Linked DNA regions of Homo sapiens: all the other regions are linked to region 2. Evidence: promoter capture Hi-C in 16 types of primary human blood cells and fetal thymus (Javierre and others, 2016). All regions are on one chromosome and are shown on one strand. Each heading gives the region's core, a stretch centred on a gene start or on the middle of the fragment in contact. The rest is flanking DNA. Distances are from core to core; before and after follow the strand shown.

Region 1 (2,700 bases), core at 201-2,700, 730 kb after region 2:
ATGGCTAAGAGTTACTGCAGTGAAAGGATTCAAAGCAAAATCAGCAAAGGGAAAAGCTACAAGGCGTAAAATCCAGAGGAAACCAGGCACAAGTTTCCAGAATCCTCTCCCCATGGAGTCACACAGGATGCACTTAATTCACATGAGTTGTGGCAGCATGTGTGAAATGTTGTCTACCAGGAAGCTATCTTGAGCTTAGAGTCCAGGGATTCTGTTGGGATCAGTCATACGGGCACATCTCCTTCCTGTCACGTACCAAGAGTCCAGACTCCAGGAAGGAAAGCAGATGTTCAGCTAAGCCACATTGCACCTAATGAGACCCTGTGTTCAGAGTGCCTTGCCAGAAAAGGAGACCTCGAATTGATTTTTGGAACATGTGAGGAGAGTTCCTGGGCAGAGGGGAATGTGGGTGCTCTAGTTGTGTTGGGGCATGGCTTATTCAGGGACTGCCAGCACGTGCTTGGTTGGGGAGGATATGAGATGTGGGTGCAGACCCTAGCGCGACAAAGCCGCTATCTCAGGGAGCTGTGGTCTAGGGGAATGACAGATAAACTGTGGCTTAGATACCCTGGTAGGCTAACCAAACAGCTGGTGGGAGCTCGGGGTCAGAAATGCCCATGTTAGTGGCCCAGGGGAGGCTCCAGAGAAGGGATTATTTTGGAGGGATTTTTCAGGGCGAGGAGTCCATTCTGGGTGTAAAAGTGATTGGAGATGGGGCAAAAGGAGTGGCTTTAAAAAGCTTCTGGGCTGGGCGCGGTGGCCCACACCTGTAATCCCAGCACTTTGGGAGGTCAAGGCAGGCAGATCATTTGAGCTCAGGAGTTCGAGAGCAGCTTGAGCAACACAGCAAAACCTCATCTCCACAAAAAAATATAAAAAATTAGCCAGGCATAGTGGCATACACTCTATAGTCCCAGCTATTTGGGAGGCTGAGGTGAGAGGGTCACCTGAGTCCAGGAAGTCGAGGGTGTGATCACGCCCCTGAACTCCAGCCTGGGCGACAGAGGGAGATCCTGTCTCAAAACAAAACAAAAAGCATCTGCACAATGAAACATGCAATGAGATGCCATTTATGGGTGAATGAACACAAACACCAAAAGCCACCTTTATGAACATGATATGCAGGGAAAGTAGAGACCTGTAAACTGGAGAGAGGGTCACTGCATTCATGGGGATGGCTGTCTGAGGCTGAGAGGGAGGGAAAAGGATTGCAGGGAGCCATAAAGAATTCCAACTTGACCTGTAAAGTTCCATGTTTTTTGTTTTTGTTTGTTTTTATATTTTTTGAGATGGAGTCTCTCTCTGTCACCCAAGTTGGAGTGCAGTGACACAATCTCAGCCCACTGCAACCTGGACCAGCTTCAAGTGATTCTCCTGCCTCAGCCTCCCAAGTAGCTGGGATTACAGACGTGCGCCACCACGCCCGGCTAATTTTTATATTTTTTAGTAGAGACAGGGTTTCACCGTGTTGGCCAGGCTGGTCTCCAACTCCCAACCTCAGGTGATCTACCCACCTCAGCCTCCCAAAGTGCTGGGATTACAAGCGTGAGCCACCATGCGCAGCTATCTGTAAGGTTCCATTTTTTTTTTTTTTTTTTTTTTTTGAGACGGAGTCTCTCTGTCGCCCAGGCTGGAGTGCAGTGGCGCAATCTCGGCTCACAGCAAGCTCCACCTCCCAGGTTCACGCCATTCTCCTGCCTCAGCCTCCCGCTTCCATGTTTTAAATGAAAAAAAAAAAAAAAAAAAAAAAAAAAAAAAGATGTGAGCGGTGGATTCACAGGTGTTTAATATTATTATTATGGTGTGGGTTTGTTTTTCATGATTTTTAGAAAGATATTGGGGTGGGGGAGCGGGGATGAAGGCAACAGAATGATAAGACAAGAGGCAGGACAGCCGGAGCCATCTCTGAGCTGCCTGGAAGCCCTGCTGGGTGATCTTGAGTGTGAGGGGAACAGAGGTCTTCCACGTTATTTGAGGAGGACTCATGATAAGACGTGAAGTTTATGAAAATAACTCACTTAAGCATGGAGGGTGGAAGGGAAGACAAAGAGACCAGTGGGGATTGTGAAAATAATCTAGATGGTGACCCAGGGGAGGCCCTAATGATGGTTTTGAGGAGATGCCAGAGTTAGAGAGCTCACTGTGGGAGGAGAGCAGGTGTGAAGCTTGGCAAGGAGAGCAGATGTGAAGGTTGGCGAGGAGAGCAGGTGTGAAGCTTGGCTGAGTGGGGTTGAGAGGGCTCTAAGGTGACGGGTGCATCCCAAGGCTGTGCGTGTGTGCGTGTGTGTGTGTGTAGGAGTGTGTCTATGTGTGCAAGTATGTATGAGTCTATGTGTGATTCATGTGTGTATGTGTGCACTTGTCTATGCATGGATGTATGTAGGAGTGTGTGCATGGATCAAATGTGAACGAAAGTGTGCATGTGTTCCTGTGTGTGTGCATGTGTGTATATGTGCCTGTGTCTGCATGCATATGTGTATGAGTACATGTGCATGTGTCTGTGTGTACAAGTGTGTGTGCATGTGGGGGAGTTACTTGTCTGTGTGTACAAGTGTGTGTGCATGTGGGGGAGTTACTTGTATGTGTGTCTATGCATGCTTGCATACGTGTGACTTGAGAGTTCCTGTCTGTGGATCTCCTTGTGTCTTGTGGGAGGCTTGTGGAGGAGAGGCAGAGAGCAGCTCAGGCCCCACACAGGGT
Region 2 (2,704 bases), core at 77-2,576:
ATGCTTGTTGGTGGAATGAAAGGCAAGAAATATTTATTCATCATTTATTATATGCCGGGCACTGTTGCCTGCTTTTATAAATATTACCTGATATAATTCTCACAGACAACCCAAGGAGTTAATATCAATCAGCCCACTTTGCAGATAAGAACTCCAAAGTGGGACACATTGCCAGTAAATGGTAGAGCCAGCTCTGGGTCATGGTGGGTGGGCCTGCCTCAGACCTTCTCAGTTCTTTCCCACTGCCTTTAAGAGATTTTTTGTTTTGTTTTGTTTTGTTTTGTTTCTGTATGAGTCTCCCCGGCTTCCCTCACCCTTCTCCCAAGAAAAAGAAAGAAGGGGAGAGAACTGGAGAGAGAGACCAGGTAGGGGACGGGGACTGGGGGACGAGATAGGATGGAGAGAGTCACAAAGAACCCCTGCTTTCTATCAAAGCACGGACAGTGGTTCCAGGCGCCCAGCAGATGGCAGGATGTAGCCAAAGATTCCCTGCAGTCCCGGAGAGCTGGGCCCGCAGGACTGCAAGGCAGGGGGACCTGCCTGTCCCTCAGGGAGCGTCCTGGGAACCCGCGCTCGCCCCACACGTCTTGGGGCGCATCTGCCGCACCCCTTACTTAGGCACCCGCAACTGTGGCGCGTATCTCCCGATCCAGGCTCCCGCCGCAGGAGCCCAGGGACCCTCATGCTAGCCTCGCCCCTAAATCGGACGCCGATGCCGCCCAATTTTGGGGGAATCCCGAGACTCATGCCCAGCCATTCCCAGGGAGAATGGTTTGGGGCAAACTATGGCTGTCTGGGGCCTCAGTTTCCCCATGTACAATGAAGGGGTCAGATTAGTATCTAATCTTAAGGGGTCAGAAAGTAAACAGATACTTTCATTCATTAAACACTGAGAAAAACCTTAAGAGGAACAGCGTCGGTTGGAGAGCCAGCAGACACTCCACTGCCCATCCCAATATGAATGGGCAAATACAGGCTAGCGGGGAGTCCTGGGACTCCCTTCGCAGCCGGGGCCGACTAACCACAGACCTAAGAGCCCCTCTACCTCTAGACCTCCGTCTACTGCGCTCTAAAATATGAACGATGCTTTCTTACTGCTGGGTTGTCGGAGGCGGATGTGGGATGGTGCTAACAAAGCGCGTAGCCGAGGCCTGGCCATAGTGGGTGCTGACAAACCGCTTACTGCCTGCAGGGACCGAGCTCCCGGCCGAGGGAGGAGGGCCGAGCAGGGATTCAGATTCTTCCGGGCCGATCCCTTTCTCAGCTCCTTCCGCCCTGCCGCCGCCCACTGCGTGCTGCCTTCGTCCGTCCCCTCCTCCCCCGCTCCTTCCCCTCCTTCCCCTGCTCCCGCGCCGCCTCGCGTCTCCCGCCCGCTGTAGCCGGCGAGGAGCGCCGCACGTTGGCCCCGGCGCGAGGAGCTCCCGGGTTCCCGGGCGGGCACTGGAGTAAGGAGCTGCGAGCGCAGCCCGAGGCGGGGCACGGCGGAAGGCGCGGCGAGAGCGGGGTCCCTGCGAGCGCAGTCGGAAGGGCGTCCAGGAGAAGGGGGACGCCGTCCCCGCCCCTGCACGGTGCTCGGCCCCCTCGGGCTCCGCGCGCGGCTACAACCCGGACTGGGCGCGCCCCCGGCATCCCGCATCTCTGCGCGCGTCCCACATCCCGCATCCGGCATCCCAGCGGCCGGGCATGTAGCAGCGGCAGCAACGGCGGAATATGGGCGGGAACCACTCCCACAAGCCCCCCGTGTTTGACGAGAATGAGGAAGGTAAGAGAGCGAGAGGTGCGAATTCCCGCTTCGCGGGGCATCCCCTTCCTCCACCACCCTCGGCCGAGCCCTGCGGGGCACCGCATGCTGCCCGGCGCGGGGACCCAGGCATGGCCACTTCGCCCAGCGAATGCAGTGTGTGCCCGACCCGTGCCAGGCGCGGCGCTTCTGCTGAGGCAACTCCTAGGTACCCAGTGCCGTTTAGTAGTCGGGACGGTGCCTAGCGCGGGACTGGGGAGGCGGCTTCAGAGAGTTGAACCCGAAACCTGCACTTGGGGGTGTGGAAGGGAGGAGTTGACTTCGGAGGCCAGTCGGGATGGTTCTAGGCTCGGGCTCCCCAGGAAACCGAGGTTTCCTTGAGAGCCTGAGGCTGACGGAGGTGGCCTGGAAGGGCGGGTTGCACCGTGTGTCTGTGTGTGTGTGCGCGTGCCCACGACGCATTTGGTCTCGTGCAAGGGCCTGTTGGATGCAGCTCTCCTCAATCACCCAGGACAGAGGGAAACTTTTCTTTGCTAAACTCTGTGGTTCCTAGGAGGGCGTCCTGTTCTGGGCAGCCTCCCCCTGGCGCAGAAGTGGTGTAGGCTGTCCAACCGCATCTCAACTTCCTGGCTGGATCCTTGCGGTTCAGGTCGATAGAGCTCCCTATTTGGACTAGCAGAACCCTCTTTCCAGTGCAGCGTGTCCCTGGAAAACTTACTTCACCTCTCTGAAACATTAGTCCCTTCATCAATGAAATGTGAGTTATGATACCACTAGCTACTTTATAGGGTTGTTTGAAGCTTAACCACTAGTAATCCACGTGAAAAGTGCCTTATAAATGCAAGCAGTACCGAGCTGTGCCGTTTTTTATGTTAAGAGCCCTCTGCCTCTCAAAGCTGGTTTCCTACTGTGCTGACTCGCCAGTCTCCACTGTGCCCCAGGTAAGAGCTGAGACATACTGAG
Region 3 (2,769 bases), core at 72-2,571, 680 kb after region 2:
CACAACCCAGAGGGGCGGGTGTCATTATCATGTCCACTCTGCAGGTGAGAAAACTGAGGCACAGGGCAGAGGATTTACCCAAAGTTATAAAGCTGCAGGAGTGGCACTGAGATGAGAAGTTCAGTACCTTTTCATGGGGCCACGTGTTCTCTTGACTGAATGAACAAGAACTCAGAACTGTGGATGTGGGGAAAACAACATTAGTCTCTGCCAGATGCACCTGGCCTCTGATTGAATCAGCCACGGACCTGAGCTATGGGAAGCCAGAGAGAGGAGTCCCACTTTAGCCGCAGAACCCCGGTGGGTTTATTCAGGCATCAAGATGACGGGGGTTAAAAAAAAGTGTTATTTCTCCATAAGGCACATTCTCTGAATTACTGAATGAGGAATGAGACCCTACAGAGAGAAGGCAGATGAGAGAAAGAGGAGAGCTAGAAACAGGTGGACAGACACACAGATATGTCTACAGGGCACTCTTACAAACTGGAGAAGAGCAAGAACATCACGTTGGAGGCCAGGCATGGTGGCTCACGACTATAATATCAGGGTTTGGGAGGCTGAGGTGGGAGGATTGCTTAAGCCCAGGAATTTGAGACCAGCCTGGGCAACATGGCAAAACCCTATCTCTACCAAAAACAAAAACAAACAAACAAACAAACACTTAGCCTGGTGCAGTGGTGTGTGCCTATAGTCCTAGGTACTCAGGAGGCTGAGGTGAGAGGAACACTTGAGTCCAGGAGATGGAGGCTGCAGTGAACTGTGATCACACCACTGCACTCCGACCTGGGCAACACAGCGACATCCTGTCTCAAAAAACAAAAAACAAGAATAGCACACTGGGGATGTGCCTGGAAGAAGCTTGGGCTCTGTGTGAGCAGGACTGACTGGCCTCATAAACGGGTGCCAATGTTTGAAACCGTAAATATGCTAGAATTCAAGAACTAGAGCATGGCCCTTCACCCCCTCTATCCCCAGCCCCATGGAGGTCCCTGGATGGGGGCCACCAGGCAGCCTGTGTCCAGCTTTCCTCAGTGAGCTACACCTGGCCCTGGCTGTTTTCTCCAAGGCTCCATGCTTCCTGAGAGGACCAGTTGTTTCTGGGCTCAGAGCCTGTCCAGTTGGCAAGCAGAGTAGTCCTGGCTGGCCTCGCCCCACAGCCAGCGAGTGTCCACAGGGAGCAGCTTACAGTCCTGGAGGGAGCGTTCAGCATCACTCACCATCCAGCACAGGGGTGTGGCCTCTGCACACTGCCAGGCACTGTGTCAGACCCCAGGGGCAGCCTCTGCCTTTGTGGAGCCCACTCTCTGGGGCAGTGGGGAGGGCAGTAAACAGATGTCACAAAATAAACGGTGGCAGGCAGCATGGCAAAGGCCTGTGACAAAGCATCATGCGAGTGTGAAGGGGGCACCTGAGGGAATGCAGAGCTGGGGAGATGGTCAGGCTTCCCTGTGGGGAGTCTCGTGGGTGGAAACCCAGGGAAGTTCCAGGAGCACTGGATTAAGGGACAGTCCTAGACCCTAGTCCACCCTTTGACAATTAGGAGCTGTGTGACTTTGGGTAAGTTGCTTCACCTCTCTGGGCCACTTTAGGAAAGGCTTAAATAAAATATCCTTTCAGCTATTGCTATATGGAGTTACTGGGAAGTCAAGCTGCCCTGCTTTGAGAGGGTTCTGTGGGTAGAACTCTGGGCTCCATATCACAGCTGTGTGGCTGGCATGGTCACAGCAGTGATTATTCTGCACGTACACTCTGGTAGGCTCAGTGCTTTAAATGTTTTACTTTTTTGAAGCTTTACATGCCACTTCACTAACGAGGAACCTGAGGTTCAGAGAGGTTAAGTCACTTGCCCAAAGTCACACAGCTGGTGATGGCAGAATCAGACCTGGACAAGGTCTGTGTGAGTGAAAGGCCCCTGCATGCCCAGGTGTGGCCCTGCACCCTGCATGTTAAAGGTGCTCAGGAGAAATGTGTTGCATGTGTGATTGGCACCGCCCTGAAAGAGCTGCTTCCCAGCAGGGTCCTTCCTGCTCTGGGGAGCATAACTCTATCGTCGTGTGCTGGGACTGTAAGAACCTGGTGAGCCGCTGGGAGCTGTGCTGCCTGGAGACTTAAATACTCTGTTTCCCTGGTAGAGATGAGCTGGGGTTCAGAAGTTATTCAGACCACATGAGACCCTCATGCATCCCAGAAGCTTAGAACTCCCTGGCTGGCCCTGAGGAGGAAGAAACTGGCTCTGGGCTTGTCCAAGAGGCAGGAGAAGCTGGAGTGTAACCTCTATAAACAGAGTGGCCAGGATGAGAACAGATTGGGGGCATGGAGGAAGATTAAATAAAGGGGAGCACCAGCACTAGGGGGTTCTCATGGTGCTAGAATATTACTTTGATTGTGGCTGCACTTACGTGAATCTATACATGGGGTAAAATTGCATAGAACTACACACACACACACACACACACATGCACACACATAAATGTGCATAAAGATGGGTGAAAACTGAAGAAGGTCTGTAGACAGCAGTATTCAACCAGTGGCAATTTCCCAGTTTTGGTACTGCACCATGGTGACATCAGAACCACCCCTGGGGGAGGAGCACACAGCACTTTGTGCCTGCACACCTGGCGTTATTGCATTTCACTTAATTGCGCTTCAGAGATGCTGCATTTTTTTTTTTTTTTTTTTACAAATTGAAGGGTTTTGGCAACTCTGCATCCAGCAAGTCTGTTGGCTCCATTTTTCCAACAGCACATGCTCACTTCATGTCTTTGTGTG
Region 4 (2,835 bases), core at 1-2,500, 760 kb after region 2:
GATGATACCAGGGGTGCCACATGGCTGTTACCCTTCCTGTTTGTGTCTCATTTGGCCAGATGAGCCTTGACCTACCTCCACACCCCATTGGCATCCAGCCTGAAGTGTTGGGCAGTCCCTTCTTTGACCAGGGATGGCTGTGGTCATGGCACTTGGATGACCTCCTACCCAAGGAGGGAAACGGGTTTTATTGGTTTCTTAACAACCCATGTCAAAGTAAAAATTGTTTTGATCACCTTTGGCTGCATTTTCATTTAATCCGATTGGGTAAGTTATGGCATCATGATGGGCATGGAGTCAGCGTTCTAACTGGCTGCCTTTCTTCTCTGTTTTAAGCAGCAAAAGGCTGAGTCAGCAAGAAAGTGAAGCTGGGGACAGTGGGAACTCAAAGAAGATGCTAAAGAGAAGAAGCAACTTGTAGTTTAAGACCAGTCGGTGGGACAAGACCTGAAGCCCTGGGTCTGGGTGTGAATTCCACCTTCCCTCCTGCAGTGCTGAGAGGCAGCGAGGACGGAGAGGACAGCGGCATCTCTAGGCTCTTCTGAGAGGGACAGAGAAAGAATAGAAATGTGCCCTAAAAGCATAAATGAGTATCACCTGAGAAAATTAGGCATTCCCGTCTTGGAAACACGTCTCTGTGAGTTTGCATTTCATTTGGCTTGGAGCCCTGGCTCGATGCCTCATGGATCTTTCTCCCCAAGGAGGGACGTCTTGAGGGGTCCGAGCCTCAGGCCAAGGACCCCTGATGCAGACTCTGGAATCCCTGGCCCAAAGGCCTGTCTGGGCCCATCTGGGGCTGAGGACACACAGATACATAATGACACCTGCAGAAATGTATTCTCTGAGGACACTTAGAATATGAGGAAGAGGGTGTGGCCCAACCCTCACTTCACCTGGGGAGGGGCTTCTTCCGGACAGTAGACACCCTGCCCGTGCAGAGAGATGTCATGGGGGCACCTGCTCTCCCTGATAGATGCTGAGAGCATCCAGAAACTTCCAGACCAGCCCTCTCACCACACCCAGAAGAGGCCTTTCCCATCTGGAGAGAAGCTTCCAGACCAGCCCTTCACACACCACAGCCAGGAGGGGCCTTTCCCACCTGGAGAGAAACTTCCAGACCAGCCCCTCATACCACAGCCAAGAGGGGCCTTTCTCACCTGGAGAGAAATTTCCAGACCATCCCCTCTCACCACAGCCAGGAGAGGCCTTTCCCACCGGTAGAGAAACTTCCAGACCAGCCCCTCACACCACAGCCAAGAGAAGCCTTTCCAGCCTGGAGAGAAACTTCCAGACCAGCCCTCTCACTACAGCCAGGAGAGGCCTTTCCCGCCTGGAAACTTCCGGACAAGCCTCTCACACACCACAGCCAGGAGAGGCCTTTCCCACCTGGACAGAAACTTCCAGACCAGCCCCTCTCACCACAGCCAGGAGAGGCCTTTACCACCTGGAGAGAAGCTTCCAGACCAGCCCCTCACACCACAGCCAGGAGAGGCCTTTCCCACCTGGAGAGAAACTTCCAGACCAGCCCCTCATACCACAGCCAAGAGGGGCCTTTCTCACCTGGAGAGAAACTTCCAGACCAGCCCCTCACACCACCGCCAGGAGAGGCCTTTCCCACCGGGAGAGAAACTTCCAGACCAGCCCCTCACACCACAGCCAGGAGAGGCCTTTCCCACCGGGAGAGAAACTTCCAGACCAGCCCTCTCACTACAGCCAGAAGAGGCCTTTCCCACCGGGAGAGGAACTTCCAGACCAGCCCCTCACACCACAGCCAGGAGAGGCCTTTCCCGCCTGGAGAGAAGCTTCAGGCCAGCTCCTCACACCACAGCCAGGAGAGACCTTTTCTGCCTGGAGAGAAACTTTCAGACCAGCCCCACACACCACAGCCAGGAGAGGCCGTTCCTGCCTGGAGAGAAGCTTCCAGACCAGCCCTTCACACCACAGCCAGGAGAGGCCTTTCCCACCTGGAGAGAAACTTCCAGACCAGCCCCTCTCACCACAGCCAGGAGAGGCCGTTCCCACCTGGAGGGAAAATTGCTCCTTTGATGGAGGTTAGGGACTGTCACCCTCAGCACTGTGAACATACCGGGCGAGATCATTCTTCAGGGGAAGGAGCTGCCCAGAGCATCACAGGATGTTCCAGTGTCCCTGGTCTCTGCCCACCAGATGCCAGCACTCCCACCATTCGTGGCAACCAAGGATGTCTCCAGACACTGCCCCGTGTCCATGGGGTTATCACCCACTGTGCTGAGTCAAAGGGTGCCTTGCCCTGGTCTAATCCAGGACATAGCCGTGGATACGTCCAAAAATCCCCAGAACCTAGTGAGCCCTCTGGCTCTGGGAGCCCCTATCTCAGGAATTTTCAGGGTCATTTGTGACTTTTCATTTCTTAAAACCTGAAATAGACTCTCTTAGAAACAAGTGACTCCTTCCCAGTGGCCAAAACTTAATCATCAGAGCGCTTCCTTCAGTTCCTCACCCATCAGCCAGTGGGCTCTCCAAAGTTAACCAACAGCTCCCTCTTGTGGTTCACTAAAAAACTTGGTTATTCCATGGAGTTGTGCAAAGCTATGGCTTCCTTGGTGCAATATTCTTAAAACCTGCTTTGCATAGAAATCACTTTTGCCCAGGCTGGAGTGCAGTGGCGTGATCTCGGCTCATGGCAATCTCCATCTCCCGGGTTCAAGCGATTTTCCTGCCTCAGCCTCCCCAGTAGCTGGGACTACAGACGTGTGCCACCACGCCTGGCTAAATCTTTTTTGTATTTTATTTTAGTAGAGACGGGGTTTCACCATACTGGCCAGGCTGCTCTCGAACTCCTGACCTCATCGTCCA
Region 5 (2,778 bases), core at 197-2,696, 670 kb after region 2:
GTTGGCCAGTCTGGTCTCGAACTCCTGAGCTCGTGATCCACCTGCCTCGGCCTCCCAGAGTGCTGGGATTACAGGCGTGAGCTACTGTACCCGGCCTCCATTGTCTTCTAGCTGTTGTAGAACCAAACTGGGTTCCACTCACCTGGCACAGTAAGACCAGATAGCGACACTGAGGTTTTATAGTGGTAAAAAGGGAGGTGTTTATTCACAGTGCACCAAGCCAGGAGGACTAGGCAGCTCATGCTCAAATCCTGACTGCCCTGATGACTTCCAGGTGAGGTTTTTAAAGGTAGAGGTAAATTTCAGGAAAGCAGAAGTTACAGGCAAAATTGTAAATCAATACATGAAGGTGACAACTGGTTTTGGCCTAAAAGGGCCAGACATCTTGAAGTGGAGGCTTGCAGGTCAGAGGTAGATTCAAAGATTTTCTGATTTGCAATTTTGTGAAGGAAGAGAAGCTTTGTTTTAAAATGTAGGTTCGGCAGAAAAGAACCTTAGCTCAGGCTCCTGGTCATGACTTCCTCTGGGCTCCCCAGGAAGAGCTTTAGAACAAAGAATGGTGCTCAGAGTTCAGATCTCAGATAAGGGGCAGCTGAGGACCTCAGCCATGGATCCTCAGAGTGGATCCATTGGATGGGGGTCCAGGTTTCTGAAAAACAACTCAGGGACATATGTTAAGATGTTATCTTTAGTTTCTGCAGGGAAACCAAACATCTCCTGACTCTAACTTCCTTGGCTATTGTTTTAGGCGACTATTACCTTCTTGCTTATCAAGTTGTTGATAATTTCCCTTGAAGAAAGTCAGGATTTTCCTTTATTTCCAGGCTTAGGGCAAGGGATTTGCAGGCCCTTAAAAAGGGGGGACTCTGCTTCATCTCATAATTTCCATGGTTGCTGTTGAGAAAACTGATTCTATTCTGATCCTTGATACCTTACACGAAACCTCTTTTCCTTTTGTTCCTCTGTAGAATCTTAAAGAACCTTTACCTTTGCTCCTAGTAAATGAAATTGCACCACGATGGTGTTGGTGAAAGTCATTTGTCATCCACGGTGCCAGGCATTTGGAACGTCCTTTTGATCGAGAATCATTTTCTTGATTTCTTTGATGATTCTTTTCCTTTTATACGTTTTCTTCTTCCAAGAACTCCTATCACTTTTTTAGGTTGAATTGGGCTTCCAATCTTAGTCTTTCTCTCTCACTTCGATTCTCTTTGTCTTTTTTACATTATCTTTGGAGAGATGTTTCTCAACTTTATACTTGTATTGAGTTTTTCATATTTTCAATTTTGAAGAGTCATTTTTTTGTTCTGAGAATGTTCTATCCTGTCCTTATTTTATGAATGGAATACCTTCTCTGATCTCTCTGATAATATTTTAGTTGTTTATTTGTTTAAAGTTTTTTTTCCCTGTGTAGTGCGTTCCCTGCTTGCTTTTTCCTTTTGTTTGTTTTGGATTTTATCTTTCATATTAGAGTCTGTCCTCAAATGGCTAGTGACCCTCTAGACATTTTCAAGTGATGCTGATGCTCCCTCTGTGGGATATATATATTTTTTCCTCAATGTCTTTACTGTAGGACTATCTGACTGGGTTCTTCTTTGCAGGACCCTTGTACTGGTCTGCTATGGTTGGTAAACAACCCCCCAAATCTCTGGCTTCATCATCCACCCCAAGACCCACGACAGACTGCTGCATCTACACAGGTTTCTCTCTATGCCCAGCATGGGCCTGCCTCCAAGGCCTTTGCACTTGCTATTCTGTCTCTAGAATGCTCCTCCCTGAGATATCTCAATGGCTCATGGCCTCACTTCTTTTAAGTTCCTTCTCAAATGCCGCTTTGTCCAAGAGACTTTGTCTCCCATCATCCTTCATTCCCCCACCCTCCACTGTTACTCTAGGACATGATTGTCCCTGAATTGCTATGTATTTTTTCATTTGTTTGCCTCTTTCTTCTCTCACTGCAATGTCAATGCCACAAAAGCAGAGGCTGTGTATTTTGTTCGTTACTCTATTCCCAGTACCTAGAACAAGGCCTGACACAAAGCAGATGCTCGATAATAGTAGCTGATTAACTCAGTGACAAACTGGTGATGTTTCTTTAGTGCAAAGATTATATTCATGAGCAGGTAGTGATTAAAGGGGAAGTTGAGAAGTGTCTGGGATAACAGAGTTTTAAATATAGTCTACTCTCCTTATTCATGGTAGTTATGTTCTGTAAACTCACTGAGAACACAGCATTAGCGAACACTGAACCGTTGTTCCTGGGGGGAAAACAGGGTTAGGTTCCTACAAGCCTCTGGTCACAACATTTCCATTAACCAGTCAATACATAGCATAGTTTTATGTATGTTTCTGTTTAAAGATATCTTATTTAATAGATATTTTTAATTTATTAACATTGGACTCACAGACATCAGCTCTGTAACTCACACCTGAATGAAGCTTCTGTAACACACCCATTTCTCCAGAGGGCATGTCATAGTTTTCTTGTGTTTCGGGAGACTAGACAGCACTTCTGCACTGTGTTTGGTGGTTATTTTAAACAGTAAAGTCACCGAGAAAAAGCACAGAAATGCAAAAACTGTGCTACTAGAGTATGAAAAGGATGTTTGTTTACAGCATGAGAGCAGAGACAAGAAGGCAGAGTGCTACTTTGTTCCATCTCAACTGAGCACGTGCATGCTGGGCAACTCAGATTGTTCATGCTCTGCATGTATTTGTGAATAACTGTAAAAGCGCCATGAGCATTGGTTTGGGGGTTCTAAATAAATATTAGCAAGT
Region 6 (2,814 bases), core at 60-2,559, 790 kb after region 2:
GACTTGTGACTTTTGGCTGTTATGGTCTTCAACTTGTCGGGGTCCCAGATGACCACGTCGGCATCCGAGCCCACGGCAATCCGCCCTTTCCTTGGGTACAGGTTAAAGATCTTGGCTGCATTGGTGCTGGTGACAGCGACAAACTGGTTCTCATCCATTTTGCCAGTAGCCTACAGGCAAGACCCACAGATGAGAAGAGCATCTCATAATGGGGCCAGGAGGAGGGGCAGCTGGGCACAAATGGAAGACTGCCAGCTGAGGCCTTGCAAGGCTTGGAATTCTCTCCTCTCCCAGCTAAAAACGTGCCATCATCAAGAACCCCAGAAGGCCCAGCCTCATCAGAGAGGACATTTAATTAACCGCACAGAGGTATGTTGACGCAAGAGCCACTATGACATCTTGTCCATGTCACCAGGCCCCAGTTTAACAGAAGATTAAAAACCTTTGGTTTCAGGTCAGTGATCAGAGTGAGACCCAGCTCTTCCTCTGCAACAGGAATTCTCTCTCTACCCACTCAACATCCCAACTCCTAACACGTGTGCACATGCACACACACAGCGTTACAGAGCCATTTCCACAGGAACTAAGACGTGGTTGAGAAACAAAACAAAACATTTTTCAATCTTAAGATGTAAAGGACAAGGGTGACATCCACAAATGCAGAGGCCTCTCCCGGACTTGAGCTACTATCTCTCAAGTTATGCGTTCCCTCCTGCGCCCTCCTAGTATATCTGCTTCCGCCTCCATGTAAGAAGGGAACTTTTAAGAACCCAGCGTGCATAATGCATCGGCTTTCACAGGGCAGGTAGAGTGTTTCTAGAATGCTCCTGAGAAGAGATCCAGCCTTACCACCGCCTTGTCCCAGACGACCGTCATCCGCTCCTCTATCCCGTTGACACCCTCGGGGATCAGGGTAAAGTTGTCCTTGCCCACCGCCTTCTGGGCAGTGCTGTAGGGACAGTGGCCGCTGCCTGTGACCTGCAAGTCCCCACTGGCAAGGACAAAACAAGGTAGAGTTCAGACCCTAGTTCATTTTGAAGGCAAATCCTGACTTCAGACAGGTACATGCAGCACAGCCAGTGAATGAATGAATAGATAAGGAAGCCAGTGGGTAAGAGAGACTCTCTAGCGTGTGCCTGCACGTGTCACAAGTCAGGGATGCCCCATTTATGTCACTGGCCTCATGCTTTGCACGTTACAAAGTGAGTAATGTGTGCTGACATTTGTCTTCTTGACATAAGGCAGTTGGCTTAAGGGCTGGCCAGAGTGTTTGTGCTGTGCTTGCAGAACAAACACTATTCATTGGTTACAGCAAAGTGGCACAAGTTCACTGGGATTTACCCTTTTGTCCCCTGGTGTTTTAAAAACAAATACTCTTTGATATATCAGGTGCCCTGAGCTGAACACCTAAGACAATAAAATGAATGGACCAGGCTGAGTGTGGTGGCTCACACCTGTAATCCCAGCACTTTGGGAGGCTGTGGATCACCTGAAGTCAGGAGATCGGGACCAGCCTGACCAACATGGCAAAACCTTGTCTCTACTAAAAAAAAAAAAAAAAAATTAGCCAGGCGTGGTGGTGGGCGCTTGTAATCCCAGCTACTCAGGAGGCTAAGGCAGGAGAATTGCTTGAACCCAGGAGGTGGAGGTTGCAGTGAACCGAGATTGCACCATTGCACTCCAGCCTGGGCGACAAGAGCAAAACGCAGTCTCAAAAAATAAAATAAAATAAAATAATAAAATAAAATAAAATAAAATAAAATAAATAAAATAAAATAAAATAAAAAATGAATGGACCATTATTAGTGGTTCTAAATGCAAGGTGAGGAAGGTGAGGCTGTCCTCCAATCCAGAGGCCCAGGAAATGTTAGCAATTGCCTAGATGCAGAGGAGTATATTTAGAAGTTTTCTTCACTCATTTATTCAACAAAATTGTGTTGCATGCTTCCTATGTGCCCGGTACAATTTAAGGAATGGGGACTGCATCTAAGATCAGAAAGAGAGAGCTTCTGCATGTGTCAGCTATACTGAGGGATGGGGGAGACTGGCAATAAGCAGAGGCGAATGGGGCACATGGGCGCTGTTAGAGTGAGTGTCAGGGATTCAACCAAAGCAGGTGGGGATGAGGCGTGCTGGGGACAGGCTGGAGATGCCATTTCCAGGAGGATAATCAGAAAATTACGTCACTGAGGAGCCTTCTAGCAAAGATCTGAAGGAAGTCACAGAGCAAACCATGTGGCGTCTAAGAAAGAGGGAACTAGCCAGGGGTTCCCATGAGTGTAAAGGCCCCGAGGCAGGGTCCTGCCTGGGGTTCAGGGTCAGCATGAAGCTGGGACTGGACCGAGGGAGCCAAGGGCAGAGGAGGCCCAGGGAGGGAGGTTGGTCAGGGCGTGTGCACCGGATTGAGTTCTGCCTTGTTGGATGTTGCAGGGACTTGGGTTTCACTGGCAGAGGACTTACTGGTTCCAAGCAGAGGGGTGCTTGATCTAATCTAGGTTCTAAATGTCTGACAGCAGACTGTGATGGGTAGGGTGGGGTGGGCCCGTGTGGAAATAGAAAGTCTTGGTCGGAAGCCAGGGATGATGGTGGCCTGAGCCAGGATGGCCACAGCAGACAGGTGAGGCGTTGTCAGACTCTAGGGCCTCTGGTCCGTGTTCCTGACATTTTCTTAGATGGGCAAGACTGTGGGACTAGCAGCTTTATGGGGGAAGATCTGCAGTTCTTTGTAAACGTGAGCTGCCCACCAGACATTGGACTGCAGATGTTGAGTAAGCCCTTGGCTACGCTAGTCAAAGGTTTCTGTATCATCAGGGG
Region 7 (2,700 bases), core at 45-2,544, 700 kb after region 2:
AGTCCTGCAGGCCACATGTCAGCAGGAGAAATAGACAGCAAAAAATTACTGTAATGATGCATGGACAGGGCTACACAGTCTATGTTTGTATAGAAGAGGGATGGATTCACTATGCCTGCATACCGGGCACCAAAGGGAAAAAAGATGGCTTCCGTATCTCAGAACACAGAAGAGTTGGAATTCCCAGGGCGGCATCCCATCTTTCTGGCCTGGGCATTTGGAGCTGAAATGTGCATCTGTAAATATTAAAACTGGAAGAGCCCTTCAAAGGGACCCTGACGGTCATCAGATTCAGTTTCTTGAGACTCACAGGAAAAAAAACAGCTGCCAAGACAGATGGGACTGGCTGTAGATAATGGTGAAAACAGCTGACACTCAGGGAGGCTCACTGTTCCCTGGCCGTTGTTCTCAATGCTTCACGTATTTTGACTTACTTAATCCTCATGTCAAATCTGTGTGGCAAGGGTCAGGTGAGGAGCTTGTGCTCAGGTCCTGGGAGCCAAGTCTGAGCCTGGCACTGTTGACTCAGCCACACTCAGAGCACATCAGGGCCCCCTTCCCCCATTCCACATCCCTCTTCTCACGCCACTCTCTCCACTTCCATCCTCCCTCCAATATAAGCACATCGATTGCACCACCACTGCCGAATCCAGCCAGCCTGTGTTGGGTTCTCAACATGCTCTTTAGAGGTGGCCAGAGCCGCCCTTCCCGCGGCCCACCTGGCACCTCCGCTTATCCTCTTGCACCCTCTAGGGTTCACGGGCTGCTGGAATGAGCCTCGCCGTCCTTGTCCATCGCTGGGGGATGTTCTTGCCCTAGTCTTGTGTTGTGGGAACAGAGGCCAGTGCAGCTCAGCGCACAGTGTGGCCATGGCTGGTCAAGGGGACGTGGGCGACTCAGGCCTGGCCCCTGTCTTCAAGGGCTCTCAGTCCAGGCTGGGACTGCCCCTCACAATCACCTCCTCGAAGACAGGAGCCCTGGGGCAGTGGAGAACAGAGTAGGGGACCAGTGAGGGTGGGGACAAGCAGGGAAGGACCACAGAACCCATGAGGACATAGAAGGACCTGGCTGGGCAGGGGAGTGAGAGGAGGCAGTGAGGGTGTTCCAGGAGGAAGGCCCCGCATGTGCAGAGGCTGGGCAGCCGGGACCAGGCAGGTGTGCAGGACAGGGCCCCACAGAACTTCCTGCACCATGCCTGGGGTGCTGGACTTGATCTCAGGGCAGCAACAGGAGGGTTTGGGGCCATGGCTGACAGAACCATCAGCATCTCTGAAAGGTCCGCTGTTCTGTGAGGTGGGGTTAGAGCATGGGGCAGAGATGGGAGGCTGGGGAGCAGGACTGGCCTGTGGCCTCGGCCCAGCACAGAGGTGCCTAGGCCTGAGCTGGGCGTGGCTGGGAGTGGGGGGTGCAGAGTCTGTGCCGAGGGAGATGCCAACGTCCGCCGTCCGCTCCTCCTTTCCCCCTTACTCTCATTCCACAAGCAGCTGCTCTCAGGTGTGCAGGGCCCTTGGCTGCCTCCGGTTGACATTTCCCCCTGTCTTTTCTGAGAGTCCCTGAAATGATGAGGTGGGGCTGGGGAGGGCCTTCTGTAGAATCTGACTGCGGGGAGTCGTGTTGGAAGCCAATCATTCCCCTGAAAATCTCGGCCGTCCTCAGCAGTCAGGCTCTCTGGGGCTCTAACAAAAGCCAGGAACTGCTGGCACTTTGCATTTCCTCCACAGCCCTGTGGGGGCCACAGGGCCAGATTGGCCGGGGGAGATGACTATAAGCCAGGTGGCTTTTCCTCCTTGACCGTTTGTAAATCTGGATTCCCTCCTAGGAGGGTGGCCCTCTGGGGAGCGCTACTGGTGACTAAGTGCCTACATGCTAAGCTGCGTCAGCCTCCCCGCACCCTAGGAGAGACACTTAATCCCCACCTCGGGGGCAGACGCAGATCTCGCTCATGAAGGAGAGGGGGAGTTCATCCCTCTGAGCTCCGCTCTCCCAGGCAGTGCCATTAGTTAATGACCCTGGTGGCTTCTTCTCAGCTGTTAATTAACATGCCCTGGTGGTTCCCAGGACACCCCAGCTATGGTCCTGTGTGTTTCTTTTTGCAGGACGCCCTGGAGAGGACGATGGGGCGGGCGCACATGGCAAAAGTGATTGAGTTTCTGAAGCTGCAAGTCCAGGAGGAGACCAGGTGCCGGCTGGCTGCCATCTCCCACGGCCTGGAGCTGCTGGCTGGTGAGGGGAAGCTGTCCGGGCGGCAGAAGGAGGAGCTGCTCACGCAGCAGCACAAGGCCTTCTGGCAGGAGGCAGAGCGCTTCAGCCGGGGTGAGCCGTGGGCATGGGTGCCGCCGTCCACAACACTGGCCTTCTGGGTCCCTGGGGCTGTGCAGTGAGAGGGCTGGCAGCCTGGGGCAGTGTGCCCATGATGCCGGGCACAGGCTGCCTTTCTGCTTCTGCCCTAGGGACTGGGTCACTGGGCTGCTCTCTGGGGCTCTCTTCCCTTCTCTGTACAGCAGAGTCCATGAGGGCCACTGCCCAGGGCAGGGGTCACCTGCTGCACTCACTCACCAGGGATTCCGGCTGATTGAGTCCCCACGTCCTGCAGCAAAGCCACCAGGAACTGCAGAGGGACAGAGGAGGGTGAAGGGTCTCACTAGAAATTTACACAAAGTGGTCCCTGTCGCCCAGCGGCAGCTCATGGTCATGCTGGAG

What was found. The method cuts DNA at HindIII sites, captures the fragments that hold promoters and counts their contacts. A CHiCAGO score of 5 or more calls a contact.
Region 1: a contact is called between a fragment that was not itself captured here and the fragment with the promoter of STK32B in region 2, in 5 of 17 cell types (M2 macrophages, M0 macrophages, M1 macrophages and 2 more). The highest score is 15.9, in M2 macrophages.
Region 3: a contact is called between a fragment that was not itself captured here and the fragment with the promoter of STK32B in region 2, in 1 of 17 cell types (M1 macrophages). The highest score is 5.6, in M1 macrophages.
Region 4: a fragment that was not itself captured here is called in contact with the fragment with the promoter of STK32B in region 2 in 7 of 17 cell types (M2 macrophages, megakaryocytes, M0 macrophages and 4 more); the score reaches 19.7 in M2 macrophages.
Region 5: a contact is called between a fragment that was not itself captured here and the fragment with the promoter of STK32B in region 2, in 5 of 17 cell types (M2 macrophages, M1 macrophages, M0 macrophages and 2 more). The highest score is 7.2, in M2 macrophages.
Region 6: a contact is called between a fragment that was not itself captured here and the fragment with the promoter of STK32B in region 2, in 2 of 17 cell types (M0 macrophages and M2 macrophages). The highest score is 6.2, in M0 macrophages.
Region 7: a contact is called between a fragment that was not itself captured here and the fragment with the promoter of STK32B in region 2, in 3 of 17 cell types (M2 macrophages, M1 macrophages and M0 macrophages). The highest score is 7.1, in M2 macrophages.

What each region holds. Positions count from the first base shown.
Region 1 is chr4:5,780,810-5,783,509 of GRCh38, forward strand. All of the region lies in intron 11 of EVC (EvC ciliary complex subunit 1), which reads left to right. Among named protein-coding and RNA genes, the nearest start is that of EVC, 71 kb to the left of the region's middle. The HindIII fragment of the contact is 1,426 bases long and covers 738-2,163 here.
Region 2 is chr4:5,050,154-5,052,857 of GRCh38, forward strand. It overlaps STK32B (serine/threonine kinase 32B), which reads left to right and starts at 1,327. Exons shown (of 12, transcript NM_018401.3): 1 at 1,327-1,762. The coding sequence starts at 1,711. RefSeq lists an enhancer at 2,029-2,567. The HindIII fragment of the contact is 3,285 bases long and covers 1-2,539 here.
Region 3 is chr4:5,733,847-5,736,615 of GRCh38, forward strand. The region is part of intron 5 of EVC (EvC ciliary complex subunit 1); the gene reads left to right. Among named protein-coding and RNA genes, the nearest start is that of EVC, 24 kb to the left of the region's middle. The HindIII fragment of the contact is 931 bases long and covers 857-1,787 here.
Region 4 is chr4:5,810,617-5,813,451 of GRCh38, forward strand. EVC (EvC ciliary complex subunit 1) reads left to right here. Exons shown (of 21, transcript NM_153717.3): 21 at 337-2,835. The coding sequence ends at 421. Among named protein-coding and RNA genes, the nearest start is that of CRMP1, 81 kb to the right of the region's middle. RefSeq lists an enhancer at 2,366-2,415. The HindIII fragment of the contact is 405 bases long and covers 1,049-1,453 here.
Region 5 is chr4:5,715,946-5,718,723 of GRCh38, forward strand. The region is part of intron 1 of EVC (EvC ciliary complex subunit 1); the gene reads left to right. Among named protein-coding and RNA genes, the nearest start is that of EVC, 6.1 kb to the left of the region's middle. The HindIII fragment of the contact is 1,981 bases long and covers 457-2,437 here.
Region 6 is chr4:5,835,916-5,838,729 of GRCh38, forward strand. CRMP1 (collapsin response mediator protein 1) reads right to left here. Exons shown (of 14, transcript NM_001014809.3): 10 at 850-991; 11 at 1-170. Among named protein-coding and RNA genes, the nearest start is that of CRMP1, 56 kb to the right of the region's middle. The HindIII fragment of the contact is 3,228 bases long and covers 1-2,814 here.
Region 7 is chr4:5,750,740-5,753,439 of GRCh38, forward strand. It overlaps EVC (EvC ciliary complex subunit 1), which reads left to right. Exons shown (of 21, transcript NM_153717.3): 9 at 2,097-2,313. Among named protein-coding and RNA genes, the nearest start is that of EVC, 41 kb to the left of the region's middle. RefSeq lists an enhancer at 2,205-2,700. The HindIII fragment of the contact is 3,697 bases long and covers 1-2,700 here.